Linked DNA regions of Homo sapiens: regions 2, 3 and 4 are each linked to region 1. Evidence: promoter capture Hi-C in 16 types of primary human blood cells and fetal thymus (Javierre and others, 2016). All regions are on one chromosome and are shown on one strand. Each heading gives the region's core, a stretch centred on a gene start or on the middle of the fragment in contact. The rest is flanking DNA. Distances are from core to core; before and after follow the strand shown. Region 1 holds the start of CASP5 (caspase 5). Region 2 has its middle 2.5 kb from the start of LINC02552. Region 3 overlaps LOC105369468 (a long non-coding RNA gene). Region 4 has its middle 55 kb from the start of LINC02552.

What was found. The method cuts DNA at HindIII sites, captures the fragments that hold promoters and counts their contacts. A CHiCAGO score of 5 or more calls a contact.
Region 2: a fragment that was not itself captured here is called in contact with the fragment with the promoter of CASP5 in region 1 in 6 of 17 cell types (activated CD4 T cells, naive CD8 T cells, total CD8 T cells and 3 more); the score reaches 6.8 in activated CD4 T cells.
Region 3: a contact is called between a fragment that was not itself captured here and the fragment with the promoter of CASP5 in region 1, in 1 of 17 cell types (neutrophils). The highest score is 5.2, in neutrophils.
Region 4: a fragment that was not itself captured here is called in contact with the fragment with the promoter of CASP5 in region 1 in 2 of 17 cell types (non-activated CD4 T cells and activated CD4 T cells); the score reaches 5.3 in non-activated CD4 T cells.

The regions. Positions count from the first base shown.
Region 1 is chr11:105,021,569-105,025,263 of GRCh38, reverse strand. It overlaps CASP5 (caspase 5), which reads left to right and starts at 2,096. Exons shown (of 10, transcript NM_004347.5): 1 at 2,096-2,134. The coding sequence starts at 2,128. The region is part of intron 1 of LOC124902742 (a long non-coding RNA gene); the gene reads right to left. The HindIII fragment of the contact is 8,276 bases long and covers 1-3,695 here.
Region 2 is chr11:104,609,956-104,613,650 of GRCh38, reverse strand. No RefSeq gene overlaps it. Among named protein-coding and RNA genes, the nearest start is that of LINC02552, 2.5 kb to the right of the region's middle. The HindIII fragment of the contact is 3,436 bases long and covers 1-3,307 here.
Region 3 is chr11:105,372,019-105,375,713 of GRCh38, reverse strand. All of the region lies in intron 2 of LOC105369468 (a long non-coding RNA gene), which reads left to right. Among named protein-coding and RNA genes, the nearest start is that of CARD18, 230 kb to the right of the region's middle. The HindIII fragment of the contact is 2,620 bases long and covers 397-3,016 here.
Region 4 is chr11:104,662,925-104,666,619 of GRCh38, reverse strand. No RefSeq gene overlaps it. Among named protein-coding and RNA genes, the nearest start is that of LINC02552, 55 kb to the right of the region's middle. The HindIII fragment of the contact is 942 bases long and covers 1,295-2,236 here.

The sequences.
Region 1 (3,695 bases), core at 847-3,346:
ATCGTTTGCTGGGCTTTCTGCTTTGGGGATGTGATATAAGTTACAGCAGGTATCTGACTTCAAATAATTTAGAGCTCAGCAGGAGAGACGGGGGAAGACAGCTAGTTATGACAGCGACAGTGTAGTGTGATAAAGAACTTTTCCCAAATCCCACAGTTTGCTACTGACAAATCCATGAACTTGCATGTTTCTACCCTTTGCAAAAGTATTTAAGACAAAGTAAGTTTTGAATCAACCCTCAGTAGTTCACAGACTTCTTGAAAAGATAAGACAGCCATCCAAAATGAAGCGCTTGGCAGATGGTGCCTGACACCCTGAAGAAACTCTAGGATGCATGGTGTGCACAGTGAAGTCCTGGCATGGTGCAGAGAAAACGAGTTTGGGGTGAAATCATGCACTCAGGGATGTTAAGATTTAGGGAGGATTCGAAGAACTACCCCTTACTTGCAAATATGTTTTTTTCTAATATTTAACAGATTAAATGAGAGTTAATTTCTGACTTCTTAAACACCTTCATAGTTGAACACATTACAGTCTCTCTCTCTCTCTCTTTTTTTTTTTTTTTACCTTTTATTAACTGTTTCTCTGGGCATATCTCTTCTGTGTTATCATGCATACTCTACTACAACCTGAGACTACATCTGTGATCAGTCTTTGCTCAGAGAATATCAAAAAGGAGAAGTGAATTGCCACCCTAAGTAAAAATTAACTGTTAAAGCAGTTTTAGTCAGTTGAAGAACAGCATTCCAGGAAGTAGATAAGAGGATTCCTTCAGAACTGTCTCCAATCAAAGCGTAAGATGACAGGGAGATGGGGAGGAGAAGACTCCATCATGATTCCTCAGCACAGTTTAAACAAGAAATACATTTATTGAATAAACAATCCTTTCCTTGTTTCTTTTTGCTGTTGTTGTTGACTTTGTTGAGTATCAGTTGGTTATAGGTGTGTGGCTTTATTTTGGGGTTCTCTATTCTGTTCCATTGGGCTTTGTGTCTGTTTTTTTTGTACGAATACCTTGCTGTTGTGGTTACTGTAGACTTCTAGCATAGCTTGAAGTCCAGTAATGTGATGCATCCATCTTTTTGAAAAGCAGTTTGGAGATTTACCAAATAACTAAAAAAAGAACTATCATTTGTCCAAGCATCCCATTACTGACTGAATCCTCAAAGGAAAATGTACTGTTCTATCAAAAAGACATGTGCTTTCAAATGTTTGTCGCAGCACTATTCACTGTAGCCAAAATAATAGAATCAACCCAGGTGTCCATCAATGGTGGATTGGATTTAAAAAAATGTGGTACACTGCTACTATGGAATGTTACACAGCCATAAAAATGAAACCCTGCCCTTTGCAGCAACATGGATGCAACTGGAGGCCATTATTCTAAGCAAATTAATGCAGAAACAGAAAACCAAATATCACATAATCTCACTTGTAAGTTCTAGCTAAATATTGTGTACACATGGACATAAAGACGGGAATAACAGACACAGGGAAATACCAGAGGGAGGAATGAAGGAAGAAGGCAAGAGCCGAAAAACTATGTACTGGGTGCTATTCTCACTACCTAGGTAATAGGTTAAATTGTACTACAAACCTCTGCATCACCTAATATACTCTTGTAACAAACCTGCATATGTACCCCTGAAACTCAAATAAAAATTGAAATGAAAAATAAAGAAACCCAAGATATACAAAATATTTGGTTAATTCTTATGGGAAGATGCAAGGAAACTAGTTAGATTTTACTCATTCAGGACATGTGTTTTTAGACGAGCAGAGGTAGAAAAACTGACAGATCAGAAGAGAGGGATGAATAAAAGAAGATGTGGGGCTATGGAGAGAGAAAAGGAAAAAGAAAACCAGGCTGAGGTTTCAACCCACAAAACAATGTTTTGTCATTTGCATTTTTTTTCCCCAGGGAAGAATCTAGAGTTCAAGAATAGAAAGCCAATTTGCTTACTACAGGGCACTTCCCAATGATGAAACTATAGGTTCCCAGAAGCAACTTCCCATAATCTGTAATCACTTGTCCCCACTCCCTGCAATAAGGAAGTACCTAGTGTATTTTATCTCTGAGTCTGAGGCACTTTCCAGTGCTGTACAAAGAGACAGAGGCTGTTAGCTATGGCTGGTGAGTCTGGGCCCTTTTCTGACTAGCAGCTGGGTACTCAGGTCTTAGAAAAATCTTGATTTATTGCTATGTGACAGGCAGAAATACCAAAAGGGAAATCAACCAATAGTGTGCATGCTGAATCTTTCTCTTATTGGTGGTATGTAGTTTGAATCCTGAGACTGTGTAGAGACACTGAAGGAGAGTATGTTCTCTAGATGTTTTCAAGCCAGAAAAAGGTTAATTCCTTTCTTTCAGCTTCTGGTAATCAAAGAGAGAGTAAGGAAAGACAGAGTAAGTTATTTGTGTGAGAAAACTCCGGAAATTTCTAAATGCACTCTGAAATCTTCTCTGCTTCCTCTTGATTCCAAATTAATCCTCCAGACTATGAACCTTCTCCCCACAATCAGATCTGAGAGCCTCTGTGTTCTCAACGTGTTGTCATCTCTTATCTTGAATTATCTTATTGGTCTGTTTAAAGTGATTGCATTTTTCCACCTTTCTATGTAGTCCTGGTACTAACTCTTATAATGTAATATATCTTAGGTTGCTATCATAGACTTTTAACTGTCTTCCCACTCCCAAAAACTTAACCCTTCAGTCCATACTGCACACTACTTTCAGGCCAACTGTCTTATACACAGAAGCTAAAAAAGCCTATGAGTTGGAGTCCTGGGCTACTTAAGCAGCTCGTATTCCAGCAGGTCATATTGCGTCTTTGGTTTCATTCTCCTCACTGGAAAAAGGAAGAAACTGGAATAGATCAGTGCTTTCTAAACCTTATAACATATATGAATAATCTGCAGTCTTTTTTTTTCTTTAATTTATTTATTTATTATTATTATACTTTAAGTTTTAGGGTACATGTGCACAATGTGCAGGTTAGTTACATATGTATACATGTGACATGCTGGTGGGCTGCACCCACTAACTCGTCATCTAGCATTAGGTATACCTCCCAATGCTATCCCTCCCCCCTCCCCCCACCCCACAACAGGCTCCAGAGTGTGATGTTCCCCTTCCTGTGTCCATGTGTTCTCATTGTTCAGTTCCCACCTATGAGTGAGAATATGCGGTGTTTGGTTTTTTGTTCTTGTGATAGTTTACTGAGAATGATGATTTCCAATTTCATCCATGTCCCTACAAAGGACATGAACTCATCATTTTTTATGGCTGCATAATATTCCATGGTGTATATGTGCCACATTTTCTTAATCCAGTCTATCATTGTTGGACATTTGGGTTGGTTCCAAGTCTTTGCTATTGTGAATAATGCCACAATAAACATACGTGTGCATGTGTCTTTATAGCAGCATGATTTATAGTCCTTTGGGTATATACCCAGTAAAGGGATGGCTGGGTCAAATGGTATTTCTAGTTCTAGATCCCTGTGGAATCGCCACACTGACTTCCACAATGGTTGAACTAGTTTACAGTCCCACCAACAGTGTAAAAGTGTTCCTATTTTTCCACATCCTCTCCAGCACCTGTTGTTTCCTGACTTTTTAATGATTGCCATTCTAACTCGTGTGAGATGGTATCTCATTGTGGTTTTGATTTGCATTTCTCTGATGGCCAGTGA
Region 2 (3,695 bases), core at 340-2,839, 410 kb after region 1:
GACATGCAGTATATGTTAATTTATTGAGCCGTAGGCTTATATCTATGTAAAGGAAAGAATAACATCTACCAAACAAGTTTAATGTAAGAACGTAATGAATAACATATGCAAAGAATATCATTGATACCTAATAAGTATTCAATACAAGCTGTTATTGTCACAGATTTACATGTATTAAATCATCTGAGTTTTTTCTACATAAAATTGTTGAGATTTTACTTGATGAATGGGTAAAGAAAGAAAAATGTTAAATTATATATTTATTTTTTAACCAAATATTAGTTGAGCATTATACCCAGTTGTGCCATATCCTAGATAAAATGAATAAACCATGTCATCTAACAGCTCAAAGCTAAGTAGGGAAGACAGAAACACAAACATAATTACAACAGACTCTGAAAAGTGTACAAATTAGTATATGCATGAAGTATACTTGTGACTGATATAAGGGGTTTCAGTTAAGTATTCACAGAAAGAATACTTGGCCAACTCTTAAAGAATGAGTAGAAGTTCTTTACATATAACTTAAATATAAAACTACCTCAACCTTAAGTACTACAGAATACATAAACGAGTGCTCTAACAGTGAACAGACTCAAAAAACTTGATATGACCTTGTTTATAAGACTAGATCACTTTATTGATGAACTTAATAGCTCCTTACATATATCCCTTTTTGCTGAACCTGCATTAGGAATATTGAAATGCATTCTCTCTCTTTGTTCAGCCTCCTTGAACTTATCCACTCTATATATGTATAGAATCAAGAAAACAGCTGGGAATTTTTCCCTGGAGTTGCTTTCTTTTCAGCATTTATTATTTTCCTTCCTTTAAATAATATCCCATCTGCTTTTGGGAAACTACTAGTTTCGCATTATTGGTTATGCAATTTTGATGGTACTGCCTAGGGTTTATTCGCACAGCTCACACTCTTGGCCACAGTGATTGGGGTCAAAGAAAGGTTCTAACACGTTGATTATTTATTGGATGAGTTCACTAATCAATGGATGTATGCAGGCTTCAGCCAATAGGCACATTATATTTTCCTGGCCATCAGGATTGCTACAGATATTGACCAGTAATTTAGTCCAGCCCCAGAGGTGTGATCCTTAGAACAATTGTTAGGCCTGTGAGACAACAGCCTCCCTGAAGTGGGTGGTAGAAGAATGTAAAGGTTGCTGCTTGCTGCTGCTCTTGTACATCCGTTGAGAGGCACTATTCAAAGGGCTGAGCTAGCCCAGAGGGCAAGGGGCAGTGTAAAGAGAAATTCTAATCATTAGAATTTTAGTTTCTAATTAAACTGAACTACTTGTTTACATTATAGCCAATAATACCTCAGTTTTATTAATCCAATTTAAGTTGAATTGTCAATCACTTAGAGCAGAAAGATCCCTGACTGATAGATACCATCACCTTTCTGGCCAACTTGTTGCAATTCTTCATTTGCATAAGTTGGGAAACTTTTCACTTCTTAACAGTTGGGATCTTATCAGTCTACAGAGAGGCAGTCTTTTTTTTATCCATTTTCCACTTGTTTCACAAAATCAGGATGATTCAGGAACCGCCATCTATGTAACTGAGAGCACTCAAGTGTAATACTTTATGATACCTTTTGTCATCTTGTTTCTTTCCTTTATGTTATCGCTTTACTTTTCTGGTTCAGAAAGTCAATTACCATTTTCATGGGTCTTCCAATGGCCTTCTTTTCCTAAAGCACCTTATTTTTATATAGATATTTTAGCTTTTAAGAAATTGATGTATACAGTTAACACGCCGAGCACATTCTTATATTCCATGCTGTTAGGTAGCTACTAAACCGATTTACAGCCTGTCAGAGCAACTATCTCTGCAAACCACTTTACCAAAGTTTAAAATTATTTGAAAATAGTAAATTAAAAATAATTACCTGGAAAGAACTATTCTAACTTACCAATGATCGGATTCACAGGATTGCCACAAATTGGGTATGAATAATATCTAAAAATATAAAATGTAATAAAATATACATAATATTATGTGTAAAACCATATTATGTATACGATAACTTCCAAATTTGTTTTTTTTTCTGAATCACAAAGTGCTTCAACGTTATCAACAAAGATCAATTACCATGTTTCCGTGAATTTGTACATGGGCTTCTTGTTTCTTAGAGATTTATGGTTGACTGCTTGATTGATACGTTTTATCTTATTTAAATTGACTATGGTGCCATCAGTTTTTTTCTCACTTAAGTTCTACACATATATATGCATAAAATGTTGGTTATTAGTTATTCCCCTTGCTTTTCCTGCGTCATTTATTTTCTTCAATAAGCGGCTTCAGGGAAAAAAATAAAACACTGGCTAAGGATTAAAAACAGTTACTGTTCTCATCCAAGTTACAAATTAGTGTTTATAATTAAACTCCAAACTTAACAATTTCTTTGTTTTGAATCCATCCTGTTGAGTGGTTACAGAATTGTCTATTTCTTCTAACCTAATGCTAATAATGTGCTGGCTTCTACATCTTTATAATTGTTCATTAGCTTCAAGCAGTATGCTTTGACTTCTATGTCCTTGAAACTATGAAATTATGTTTCTATAATTCAGTTTTTCTTAATGTTTCTACTTTACATAGAATGTATTATGAAACTGAGATCTGAGGCATTTTTAGAAATTCTGAACGGGGGATATCAGTTTAGTCAGAACAGTGTCAAATGTGGAACCCAAACAACATAATTGGTACTTTGAGGTTGAGGTTGATGTGACATTCTCTTGAACATATTTTAATACTAATGCATATTTAAATTAAGATTTTAACCTCCTGACGTTCAAACCAACAAGCCAATCACTATCCAACTAGAGAGACATGTCTTACAAATAAGATGACACGACAAAAATCACTTGTCTTGAATCTATGTTTATTGCACAAGAGATTTGAAAAAAGACTAGTTGTTTATTAATATTTTGACAGTGAATTTTTATATTAAAATAGCTTTTCCAATGGATTATACACCCAGAAACCATCCCAAATATATTTGTCTATATCCTGAAAGGCTGCTACCTAAAAATGATGGTATGGCATGTGTTCAAACATGACATCCATTTCATTTTACAATTTTATCTTTTTATATAGCAGGTAGATTTCTGGCTATCCTACACAATATAATTTTTTGTTTCCAAGAAGACCAGATGAGGTAGGCATCTGTATTAGAAATACGCTAGACCTCCCTATCAGAATCTACCTGTCCAGAAATAGTATTATTTATTGTATCCCTTTTTGATCCTTGTTACCAGCCTCAAAGTAGCAAGGCTTCTTCAAAGAAGCTTAGCTTTGATCGTGACCAGAGCCAGGTTGACAGGTGAGATGTTAAAGTTTGTTTTGCCCCAACATGATCTTGTCATGACCCATTTTGGTGCCATGCAGCTGAAGGTATGTTTTGGTTGAGGATTCTAACTATTCTAACTTCCAGTGAATTCATGCACAGCTGGATCTTGTTGGGAAAAAGAATCATCTTTCAACCCTTCAATGGTATTTCCTACTTACCATTTCATTTAACATTTATCAGAGTGCCACCTTTGTAGTAAAATGCTGAAGTGAAAATTCTTATGTTTAATAGCAGGGAAAAGTGAAAATGATTGTATCTGATTGAATCTGTACTTGCAGTGAACAGTTTAAATTTAAATTGGGAAGGTGCCAGAGGCCTATTGGCTTCC
Region 3 (3,695 bases), core at 457-2,956, 350 kb before region 1:
CCTCTGCCTAGTTTTAGAGAATTTATGGAAATGCCTGGATGTCCAAGCAGAGATGTGCTGGAGGGACAGGACCTTCACGGAGAACCTCCGCTAGTGCAGCATGAAGGGAAATGTGGGGTGCGAGACCCCACAGTGTCCCCAGTGAGGCACTACCTAGTGGAGCTGTAAGAAAAGGGCCACCGTCCTCCACACACCAGAATGGTAAATCTACCAACACCTTTCACTGCGTGCCTGCAAGAGCCACAGACACAACACCAACCCATGAAAGCAGCCAGGAGGAGGGCTGTACCCTGCAAAGCCATAGGGGTGGAGCTGCCCAAGACTATGGAAACCCACCTCTTGCATCAGAGTGACCTGGATGTGAGACATGGAATTAAAGGAGATCATTTCAAAGCTTTAATGTTCGACTGGCCTGTTGGATTTTGAACTTGCATGGGGCCTTTAGCTCCTTTGTTTTGACCAATTTCTCCCATTTAAAATGGGTGTGTTTATCCAATGCCTATAGTTCCATTGTATCTAGGAAGTAACTAATGTGCTTTTGACTTTAAAGACTCATAGGCAGAAGGGACTTGACTTGTCTCAGATGAGCTTTTGGACTGTGGATTTTTTAATTAATGCTGAAATGAGTTAAGACTTTGGGGGAATGTTGGGAAGACATGATTGGTTTTGAAATGTGAGGACATGAGATTTGGGAGGGGCCAGGGTGTAATGATATGGTTTGGCTGTGTCCTTGTCTAAATCTCTTCTTGAACTGTGGCTCTCATAATTACGCTGTGTTGTGGGAGGCACCTGGTGGAAGATAATTGAATCATGGGGGCAGTTTTCCCCATACTGTTCTCATGGTAGTGAATAAGTGTCACCAGATCTAATGGTTTTATAAGGGGTTTCTCCTTTCACTTGGCTGTCATGCTGTCTTGCCTGCCACCATGTGAGACATGACTTTGCTCCTCATTCACCTTCCACCATAATTGTGAGGGCTCTACAGCCATGTGGAACTGTGAGTCAATTAAACCTCTTTTCTTGTAAATTACCCAGTTTCGGGTGTGTCTTTATCAGCAGTGTGAAAACGAACTAATACAATTAACGATTGATTTTATAACACATGAAAATGCACTGTTTTATAAAATCTTAGTGTCTCTTGTTATTCTAATTGACTGAAGAGAAGAAAAACACCTGGGGCTTAGTCAAAGTCACATTGTCTGCATGATTTCTAAGACATCATTGCCTCCTTCCTCATTTTTCTGTTGATTAATATCAAATATACAGGGAAAGTGATCTGGACTGGAAATTCAGGAAGCTAGACCACCTTTCTAGGAGTTGGTCTAGCTTCCTGAATTTTCAGACCAGATCACTTTCCCATATATTCCTTTGGCTTTTTTTTTTTTTTTTCAAGTCTAAAATCTAGATGGAGAATTGAAAATAGATGACATTGGCTGGGTGCAGTGGCTCATGCTTGTAATCCCAGCACTTTGGGAGGCCAAGGCGCGTGGATCACCTGAGGTCAGGAGTTCGAGAACAGCCAGACCAACATGGAGAAATCCTGGCTCTACTAAAAATACAAAATTAGCTGGGCGTGGTGGTGCATGCCTGTAATCCCAGCTACTCAGGAGGCTGAGGCAGGAGAATCACTTGAAACTGGGACTCAGAGGTGGTGGTGAGCCGAGATCGTGCCATTGCACTCCAGCCTGGACAACAAGACCAAAACTCTGTCTCAAAAAATAAAAGAAAAAAAAAAAGAAAAGAAAATAGATGACATTAAGTATTGGCATTTAATTTCAGGTATTTCTCTGCATGAAAATTCTTAAACTATTAACTTAGTAATGCTATTTTGAGCACACCAAAGGCAATCATAATGGTACACACTGGTACAGTCAGACTAGGAAAAAATTAGGAAAGAGATGATGATACGTTAGAAATTTAACTTTTATTTTAACATTTAATATATTTGTGTGTATATAACTATGTAATTGACCTTATCATAGTAGTAGATAGATTTGACTTTAAAATTATTTTATACTTGGTATTTAGCAGACAGTAGCTTGATTTTTTGCCTTGTTAATTTAACGATAAAATTATTTTTTCTCCTTGCCTTACACATTTGAAAATTTTAGATAATCTGGCCGGGTGCGGGGGCTCACACCTGTAATCAAAGCACTTTGGGAGACCGAGGCGGGCATATCACCTGAGGTCAGGAGTTTTGAGACTAGCCTGGCCAACATGGTGAAACCCCGTCTCTACTAAAAGTACAAAAATTAGCCAGGTGTGGTGGCGCACACCTGTAATCCCAGCTACTCGGGAGGCTGAGGCAGGAGAATCGCTTGAACCCAGGAGGCAGAGGTTGCAGTGAGCCGAGATTGCGCCAGTGCACTCCAGCCTGGGCAACAAGAGCAAAACTCCATCTCAAAAAAAAAATTAGATAATCTATCCAGACTTTTGCGATATAGTTTGTAACACTGGCCCTGATGTGAAATTACTGGAAGCTCACTTCAACAACCTGCCTTTCTCAGTCCTCTCCTCATCCACCTCTCAATTCCAAATAACTAACACTATGAAGTGATGCATATGTTTTTAATTTTTTGATAGGAAAATCTTATATTTTACATATTAATATACAATCATTTTCAAATACTCCTTTTCAAGAAAACAATGGTTGAAAACAACAAGATTACATAAAACAAGATCATTATGTTGATAGGTAAGATGTAAAAGGGGATTATTTTTTCCCAAAAAATTTGATAAACTCAATCTTTAGGAAAATCACCGACAAGATCATATGGATGATAACAATGACAGTAAACCTAGTTTCTCATTAGTGGGCATTAGCTTGCAGAAAACAAAATTAGCTTTGTAAATGTGTATTATTTGTATTACTATCTATAAACCATTATTTTTAGGAAAAGATGAAGTAGTTACACTATTTCACCCAAGATAAAAGAATTCAGAAAAAAAATACATTTTATAGTTACTATTTACAGAGAGTTTTATAAATGTTAAGATTCTAAAGAAGCCTTAAGCTTATTGAGCTAGTGTTCTCATTTTAACATGTGTGTGATTACAGTAAGCTGTGTCAAAAGTCATCCTCTGAGTAAGGTTACTGAGGGAAAAGTGAGAGCCAAAACGTTATAAATAACTCTAAACTGATTTTCATAGGTAGTTTTGTTTTCAAAAAGCATACACAAGGTATACTGCTGATTTATTCTTCAATTTTGTTGAGCCTTAAATCTGCGTGGAGAGCATGATCAGTGTTCTGAATGTCTGTTGACAGATACTCTTAAAGAAAGGAAAGTCACTCAGCATGCTGTCTGAACTCTCAGACTGTATTAACATTGTCGTGTCATATTTCCTTCCTGGCATATCATAGTGATATTTAAATCTCTCCTTTTATGCTTCCATATATTCACACGACTTATTTCAAAGTTCCCCTGCGTGTCGGAATTTGTAATTGCACACAAAAATATGAGGGAGCTATAACTACATTTGAAATATGATGTTAAGAATTATGTCTGATCCTGGTAAATTATCTGATATATGTATGTAAGGCTATTTAGAAACAAAAAAATAATTATGTTTTCTGTAATGTATTAAGCAAATTATGGAAATTTTTTAAAATAAATTGTTCCAAAATGAAATCAAATGTGCTGGATAAAGGCCATGTTTGGGCTTGCCCGTTTTCCTGAAAGGAGCACATTCTAAAA
Region 4 (3,695 bases), core at 516-3,015, 360 kb after region 1:
GTTAATACAGCTTATTTTTGAGAAAATTTATAGGTCTACAGAAAAATGGAGCAGAAAGCACAAAATTTTTATAACCTCCCACCCCACGACATACACACAGTTTCCCCTACTATTGATATATTGCATTACTGTGGTGCATTTGTTATAAGTGATTAAGCAATATTGATACATTTTATTAAATAAGTTCTATAGTTTTCATTAGAAGTCACTAGTGATGTACATTCTATGGGTTTTGACAAATGTATAATGACATGTATCCACCCTTATAATACCACAGAGAATAATTTCACTCTCCCTCTAATGCTCTGTGTTCCACCTATTTATTTCTGCCTCCTTCTCTCCCTGTACCCCCACACACCAGGCAATCACTTTTTTATTTTATTTTTTTACTGTCTCTATACAGTTTTCTCTTTCCCAGAATATCACATAGTTACAATCATATAGTATGTAGAGCTTTCACATTGCCTTCTTTCACTTGGTAATAGACACTTACGTTTTATCTATGTCCTTCTATGGCTTGATAACTCCTTTCTCTTTAGTGCTAAATAATAGTCCATTGCCTGTATATATAACAGGCTATTTATTCATTCACTTATTGAAAGACAGCTTGGTTGCTTCCATTTTTTTGGCAATTATAAATACAGCTGCTATAAATGTTCATATGCAGGTCACTGTGTGGGCATAAATTTTAAGTCATTTGGGTAAATATCACAGAGTGAATTGCTGGATCATGTGGTAAAACTCTGTTTAGCTTTGTAAGAAACTGCCAAACTGTCTTCCAAAGCAGCTGTACTATTTTGCAATCACCAGCAATGAGTAGAATTTCCTTTCGCGCTTCCTTCTTGTCAGTATTTGGTGTTGTCAGTGTTCTGAATTTAAGTCATTTTAATAGGTGTGTAGAGGTGTCTCGTTGTTTGAATTTTCAGTTTCCTAATGGCATATAATGTGGAACATCTATTTATCTTTGTTTTGCTTGCCATCTGCTTATCTTCTTTGATGAGATGTCTCTTCAGATCTTTTGCCCATTTATTTATTGGGTTGTTTGCTTACTATTGTTGAATTTTAAGACTTCTTTGTACATTTTGGATAATAGTCCTTTTTCAGGTATGTGTTTTGCAAATATTTTCTCTCATCCTGTGGCTTCTTTTTTTAAATCTCTCAATTCATTGACTTGTCACTCAGGAAAAGCACTAGCCTTTAAGTGAAACATCAAAAGTGAAAAATATATTGAACGTGTCAGGCACTGTGCAAAAAACATAATGGTGAATGAGACAATCCTTTTATTCAAGAAGCTTAGTAAACAAAGAAAGAGATAGAAAAAAAAAGATGATTAATCCATAATGTGTGTTACAACAAGGATGATAAAGAGGGTATATTCAAGGTGCACATAACAGCCCATGGAGAATCAGGCAAGTCTTCCTGGAGGAGGTGCCTTCAGATCTGAAATTTAAAATATGTTTAATAATGGGTAAGGAGTAGACTTTGCAGAAAATGCATGTGTTATGAGGCAAGACATTAAAAAGAGAAACAGCATGGTTTGGAAAGGGTACCACTAGCCTTTTGGTATTTGAGTCAGGGAATGATGAGCAACGAGATTGGAGGGCTGAGATGGAAATAGATAGTGGGGACCCTCATATTCCCAATTAGAGAGATTGATCTGCATCCAAGAGGTGTCTTGGAGTATTTAGAGAAAATTAAACACTAAGTAAAATTGTGAATTCTCCTATCAAGAAAGAAAGGCAGAGAGAATAAAGCATAGATCATCCCTTCCTCTGTTTATGTTGCTATGCAAGAAAGCCTAAATCTGGGTAATTTATAACGAAAAGAGGTTTATTTGGCTCATGATTCTGCTGACTATACAGGAACCACGGCACCAGCACCTGCTTCTGATGAGGGTCTCCGACTGCTTCTGTTCATGGCACAAGGTGAAGGACAGCCAGTGTGTAAAGAGCACATGGCAAGAGAGAGGAAAAGTGGGGATCCACCCCCACGACCCAAACACCTTTCACCAGGACCCATCTCCAACTTTGGGGAACAAATTTTAATGTGAGATTTGGTGGAGACAAATGTTCAAACCATACCAGATAACTCACAACATCTGCCACTATGCTTCTGTTAAGGAAAAAGGTAAGATTAAAAAAAATAGTTTGTGTCTTAAGGAATATGTGTAAGTTCACCAGCAAAGCATGGATGCCTAATCTGGTAAACAATAATAGAAGGAAACGAAAAGTAAGCTTTCATATGCAACTGAAAACTTGAGGAAAAGGCAACAAATTTAGTTCAGTAAAAGGATGGGTTTTCCTCTCTAGCTTTGTGAAAAAAGCCTACTGGTTAATTAGTACAAACGTATTCATTTTAATATCCAGCTCTGTCCATGATTTGAATATACAATGATCATAGTAGCAATTCTTCTTTCCTTATCATTTTATATTATTTTACAAAGCTCAAAGTTAACGTCAGAGGATATTTCTTCAGGACTCCACAATAGTTAAAATGGAAGAGATAAATTTGCATTTAAAAATTTCAGACGTTTCTGCCAAAGTTCACCTTCACTGAGTAGCTCATTTACCTCAAGACTTTATTTAAAGGCAATTGTGCCTGAGAGCATCAGAAATTGTAATGTGGTCTCATTAAAAACCTCAGCACAGCTAAACTCCCATGGAGGATGGAGGAAACTGGAAGAGGCATTCCTTTTATTCTGACCACAGGTAAACAAAAAATTTCACAAGTTTTCATGAACCCATCAGAAAACTGATGTTACATGACAATCAAATAGACTAAAATCTGATGAGATAGGAGTTCCCTGGATGAGACAGGACATGAACCCAGGATTACTTGGCAGAACACTAGAGAAAGACATGCCAGTTGGGCAACAAACCAGTAAGGATTCAGCTCCATGTTCCCCAGATTCCTAAAGGGCAGGAAGAGGCTCATTAAGAGCATGATGTCACATCATCATGTGGCTCTCTGGGAGCCACAGACACAGGGGTACTTTACTCACATTCACAAGCTCTTCTTCATGAACCTCCACTGGGTGCTCGCCAAAACGACTGGGACCAGGCAAAAAGGCTCTGGTGGTACATGCCTAGTAAGGCAGTTTCTTACAAAGTTAAACATATACCTGAACTACAATTGAGCAATCCAACTTCTCTAAGTATTTACCCAAGAGAAAGAAACACTTTTATTCACACACTATCTTATATGCAAATCTTTATAGTGGTGTTAGTCATAACTAGCCAAAACCTCTAAATATCCTAAATAGTGAATGGATAAACAAACTGATGCATCCGTACAATGGCATACTAGTCAGCAACTAAAAGAACTAAACTTCTGTTGTACTCTGCAGCATGGATGAATCTCACATTCATTATACTAAGTACAAGAAGGCAGAATGGAAAGGTTTCATACTAAAATAATTTCATTTATATTACATACTGGAAAAGACAAAAGTATAGGAATGGAAAAATGAATCAGTGCCTTCCATATACTGGGGTGGGGTTACAATTTGGTCGCAAGGGAGCATGAATGAATTTTTAGGGTGATGAAATTAAACTATTCATTATTTTGATTGTGTTGGTGGCTACACAAATGCATGCTTTTGCCAAAATCAAGAATTGTGCCCCCAGATGAGTGAATTTTACTGTATGCAAGTTATGCAAAAATGGAAATAAAATAATAAAGACTCATCTTCTTTG